Regions from separate parts of the Homo sapiens genome. Here region 1 is linked to region 2. The links are contacts of gene promoters, found by promoter capture Hi-C in blood cells and fetal thymus (Javierre and others, 2016). All regions are on one chromosome and are shown on one strand. The core of a region is centred on a gene start or on the middle of the fragment in contact, and the rest is flanking DNA. Distances in the headings are between cores, read along the strand shown. Region 1 has its middle 11 kb from the start of TCF21. Region 2 holds the start of TAAR8 (trace amine associated receptor 8).

Region 1 (2,700 bases), core at 21-2,520, 1.3 Mb before region 2:
TATTTTATGCATAGAAAGTAATGGAAATAGAGAATCAATGTGTAGTAACAAAGGCATTTGCCATTGGAAGAATATCCATAATTCCATATTTTCTTACAAATTAACATCAAAGTGCTTTTTGGGGCATAAGAAAAAAAGTAAACAATAAGTAGATGATCCTGTGATATTTGGTTACTGAGATACATGCAAAGGATTGCCTAACACAGGCTGTATTAGTTTCCTGTGGCTGCCTTAATAAATTTCCACAAACTTGGTGCCTTCAGCTGACAATAATTTACTCTTCTCTTAGTTCTGGAGGCTGGAAGTTCAATGACAGTTTTGTTGGGTTGAAATCAAGGTGTAGGCGGAGCCATGTTCCCTTGGAGGCTTTAGGGGACAATCTCTTCCTTGCCTCTTCTGGTTTCTGGTGGCTGCTACTCTTCCTTTGTTTGTGGCTGCATCATTTAAATCTCTACTTCTGTCTTCACATCACCATTTTCTCTTCTGTGCATCAAATCCCCCTCTCCCTTTCTCTTATAAGGACACTTGTGATGGCATTTAGGGCCTACCCAAACAACCAAGGATAATCTCTCCATCTCAAAATCGTTAATCATATCTGCAAAGACCCTTCTTCCAATTAAGGTAATATTTACGGTTTCCAGGAATTAGAATCTGATTTCTTTGAGGCCACCATTTAGCCCACTACACAGGCCAAACAATGCAACTAGGGTTAGGGAAACCTCCAAATTTGTAAGAATAAGTAAAAGAAAGCTTGGTGTGACTAATTTATGTTGCTATTTTCATTATGCTCCCTGCCAAAAATATCAAGAAAGAGTCAATATTAAAACTATAGAATGGGTATCAGTTGCTTGGAAGAAAATTACAGAGATAACAGAGAACTCTTCTAAGAAATGTTCTTAATAAACCAGAAGATAAAATTGGGTGGTAAATCACTAGATATTGACCTTTCAAAGTGGAAAATTATTCAGAAGGGCCAAAGAATTTTTTTAAAAAAACTTTTGTGTGGTAGATTAATTATAAAAATAGTTCTAAATTTCCACACGTACACAGTCTACATGTTCTAAGCAAAGTGCATTTGTAGTTTCTCCCATTGAGAGGTAAAATTTATTTCCCTATCTCTTGAATCTGGGATGCCCTTGTGACTGGCTTTAGCCAATAGAACACAGCAGAAGTGGCACTATACCTGTTGTAAACCTAGGTCCAACAGGCCTTATGACTTTCTGTTCCCTCCCTAGTTGCTACAAGAACAAACTAGCCTATGGGATGATTAGAGATGCATGGTTTAGCTGGACCCAGTGGCTCACACCTGTAATCCCAGCACTTTGGGAGGCCAAGCTAGGTGAGTTGCTTGAGGTCGGGAGTTCGAGACCAGCCTGGGCAACATGGTGAAACCCTGTCTCTACTAAAAAAGAAAAAAAGCTGGGTGTGGTGGTATGCACCTGTAGTCCCAGCTACTTGGGAGGCTGAGGTGGGAGGATTGCTTGAGCACAGGAGGTGGAGGTTGCAGTGGGCCAAGATTGTGTCACTACACTCCAGCCTGGGTGACAGAGGCAGACCCTGTCTAAAAAAAAAAAAAAAAAAAATGCATGGTTTGGTTTTCCTCATACCCTAGCCAATAACTGGCCAGCCACCAGGCATGTGAGTGAGGCTGTTCTTGACCAGCTAGCTCCTAGCCAAATAGACAGCCAGCCAAAAATGTATGGGCAAGCCCCAGCAAGAACAGTAGAGCTCAGCTCAGATCAGCAGAGCCTCTTAACTAACTCAGATTCCTGAGTAACAACTAAAGCTTATTGCTTTTAAGCCACTGGGTTTCAGGATGGTTTCTTTTATGACAAAAACTGTTACATAATAAAAAGTCACAAGACTTTCATGACTGGGATTGACTAAATGATTCAGAATGAATTAGGCTCTGAATATAAAATAATTTTTGGAATATTTTAACTAGTTTATTTTGCTTATAATTTCCTTTTATGTATCCTTAATGGCAATATAGGATTAAAATAAAGTTATAAATAAGTCTAAAAGAGATCCTTAAGTAAGTATAAAATACAAATTCTAATTTTAAAAAGGCTTAATGTCATGCTTTTATTGGAAGTATTTCTTTCCTTTGTATGGCTACAGTTTTTAAAATTTCTTTTATTCTGGGACCCTCCTACATTCAAGGTAGTTTCAACAAAATAAAAGAATTCTATACTCAGCTTTCTGCCACTTTTTCACTATATAGCTCTTGGCAATTTATTTTCCATCTCTGAGTTTCAGTTGCCCTATAAAAAAAAGTGAGGATAATAATACCTCTGGGTCAGGGTTGTTTTGAAGATGAAATATGATAGCCTCTATAAATGTGCTTCATGAATGCAAATGGATGAAAAAAATTAAGAAATCTTAGTCTGTGCTGTTATTTCTTAAATGTGCCTTACAATAACATTTTACTGGCTAAAAAGTGCTAGTGATTTCCTCAATAAGATTGTTCTAGTCCATAAAGTAGATCATTTAGGTTATATGAATTTGTTTTGTTGTTATCTCTGCTCCTTCCCCACATCATAGACACAATAAGACCTGAGAACATGACCTTTTTCCAAAAACATGTTGCTCCCCATTGGAGTAGCAGAATAAACCCAGGTGGTCCATATGTAGACACCCCAGGCCTTATGGCATTGTATTATGTTTGTAGCAAACCGATTTGGGATTCTTGTTGCATTC
Region 2 (2,700 bases), core at 154-2,653:
TTGAAAATAAATGAAAGTTGAGCATTAAAAAAAAAAGATGATTCAAAATTTCACATCCAAAAATGCAATTCAGAATTCAGTAAATCGGAAAAAACAAGTGCATGTGGCAAGGATGTGTACAAAACATAGAGACAAGTGACATGTGTGAACCACTTTATCATTTATTATTTAATGTAGTCAATATCTTTACAATAGTTTAATAGTTTAATCTTCCTGTGACCTTTTTCCTGGTTAATTTGAAAAGTGATATATTTCTCCAATTTTGAAAAGTTTTATTTGTTTCTTATATTTAATTTCCTTATAAATTCATAATTTTAAAAATATTCTTAATTTTCTCAACTTAGTGCTTAAACTTATTCTAAAAATAAACTAATGGTTGATGAACTAGCCTTTAAAACATCTCCACTTAAAATAAGTTTTATGGCTTTCCTAAACCAAGGATAAAATAGAGCATAAATCAAAGGATTCATGGCTGAGTTATAATAAGCACTCCAACAGCAAATTTCATAGATATAGGCAGGGGTCAGGAAGCCCATAAAGGCATCAATTAATATATCAACTGTATACGGTAACCATGAAATAACAAATGCTAGTACCGTGACCCCCAGGGTTTTAGCTGCTTTCCTCTCTCTCTTGGCCACTCTGATTTTATAACTCTCTGAGGATGATTCTACTTTGCTACTAGTAGTTTCAATTTTTATAGCTTGTTGTTTAGCTATAAGAAAAATCTTACTGTAAAGAATTATCATAACAAGGGTAGGTATGAAGAATAACAGAAAATCTATCAACACCCAGCCTTGACTTACAATAATTTGACAGCCACCTACGCAGTTGAGAGCACTTACTAATTCCTCCAGCCCATCATCATTGACACCTGTGTAGAACACAGCACCGCTGTACGTGAGAGGCAGAATCCAGGACACGCTGATGCAAATTCCCGACACAGACACGGTGAACTTGGTAGCATAGACCAGGGGATCAGTAACCACAATGTACCTGTCGATGCAGATGAAGCACAAGTGGAGGACAGAAGAGTAACAAAATGCCACATCACAGCAACTGTGAAGAGTACAAAATTTGGCTCCAAAATACCAGCAGCTCTCCACCGTCCTGACCATGCTGAAAAGCATCACAGTCACACCTACCAAGAAGTCAGCACAGGCCAGAGAGGCAATGAGAAAATTGGTTGGAGAGTGCAGCTGCTTAAAATGAAGAACAGAAGTCATTACTAAGAGATTTCCAAATACAGCCAGCAAAGACCCAAAGCTAAACGCCGTGTACAGAATTACCCGGGACCCAGGAGAATAGGGAGTTTCAATACAAGATCCATTCACATCCTCATAGCAAAGCTGCACAACAGGTTGGGAAAAATTGCTGGTCATGGTTCTGCTGTTTGTTGTTTGCTATTTCTGTCCTTCCTTGTGATAGGGAATTATAATTTTGAATTCTGAAAATTAAAACAAAAACAAACTGCATATGTGAGTACTTACAAATTTTGTTTCATATTATATTCTTTTTCAATTTTAATTATAAAGAGAAATTAAATTCAAAAACATAAAAGATAATTCTGTCTTTAATCTCATAATTATTTCTGTCGCTATGTCTAAACCTCGTCATTAACCCCAAGCAAATCTACTATGAATTTTCATCAGCTGAGTAATCACATTAACCAAGTAATTGAAGAAATGTAATTTAAATACCTGGTTTTATATACATGTGAATCCTTCTTTTCAAAGGACGATCATGTATAATATAATTACATATTTGAGAAGTCACCTTTTAATAAGCTTCCATCTCCTAGGACATTTTAGGAAGCCAGCCAATCCATTGTACCCATTATAAATTCTTCACAAGGAATCCCCATAGTGTAAGGTGTGAATCATGAAATGAATCCCACTTTTGATAATTATAATTAATAAGTTCACCTACAATAGGAGAACTGTTTCTCTGTGCTCTGCAACTTGGTAGAAACACTTATGATTTTCATAACCATGAGATTTCTTTAAGTTCAACTGTCCTGAAATAGCCTAACCCAAGATTTGACAATAGTATTACCTATTCCTTATTTACAAGACTATCTATATAATTTGCAGCATCCAGCACAAAATAAAATGCAGAGACCCTTGTTCAAAAGTATGGACAAAAAGTGTCATTAAAGGTACTGAAATAGAAAGCTTTTACCTTTCTTTTATGGTCTTTCTTGGCCTGTCATAGTGTTCGATATTTGCTATGGAATGCCCTTGGACAAAGAGGTATTTGCAGGGCAAGTGAGGACTCTCACAGGTGTCTGCATTCCCTGCCTTGCAACTCAGCTTGCACATGGTCCACCCACTGCCAGATTCCCCCTCCTACCAGCTGCTGAAGTAATATGCCATAGTCAGGATGGGGGTGAGAAGCTGAGCCAGGGATTTGCCCTTCTCACAGGCCTGCTACCTCAACAAAAGGCAGACCAATGACCCCCAAGGGATTACAACCTGCACAGCAGAAAGCACTTGATACCTGGATTGGGGTTCATGAGGGGCTTGGCCCTGCTGAGGAGCTCATCAAACGTGCTGTGACGCTGCCAGCGGGAGATGGAGGCAACAGTCTATGCCTAGCCCTGAGACTGTGGAGGATGTGCCTGGCTGCAACTCTCCCTGTGATGCATCCAGTCCTCTGCAGGGATGAAAAGAGGATGGCAGTGGTCCCTGGTCAGAGCGG

Evidence for each region. The method cuts DNA at HindIII sites, captures the fragments that hold promoters and counts their contacts. A CHiCAGO score of 5 or more calls a contact.
Region 1: a fragment that was not itself captured here is called in contact with the fragment with the promoter of TAAR8 in region 2 in 1 of 17 cell types (total CD4 T cells); the score reaches 6.1 in total CD4 T cells.

What each region holds. Positions count from the first base shown.
Region 1 is chr6:133,898,761-133,901,460 of GRCh38, reverse strand. No RefSeq gene overlaps it. Among named protein-coding and RNA genes, the nearest start is that of TCF21, 11 kb to the right of the region's middle. The HindIII fragment of the contact is 1,036 bases long and covers 753-1,788 here.
Region 2 is chr6:132,551,375-132,554,074 of GRCh38, reverse strand. TAAR8 (trace amine associated receptor 8) reads right to left here and starts at 1,403. Exons shown (of 1, transcript NM_053278.3): 1 at 319-1,403. The coding sequence starts at 1,382. The coding sequence ends at 354. The HindIII fragment of the contact is 7,110 bases long and covers 1-1,789 here.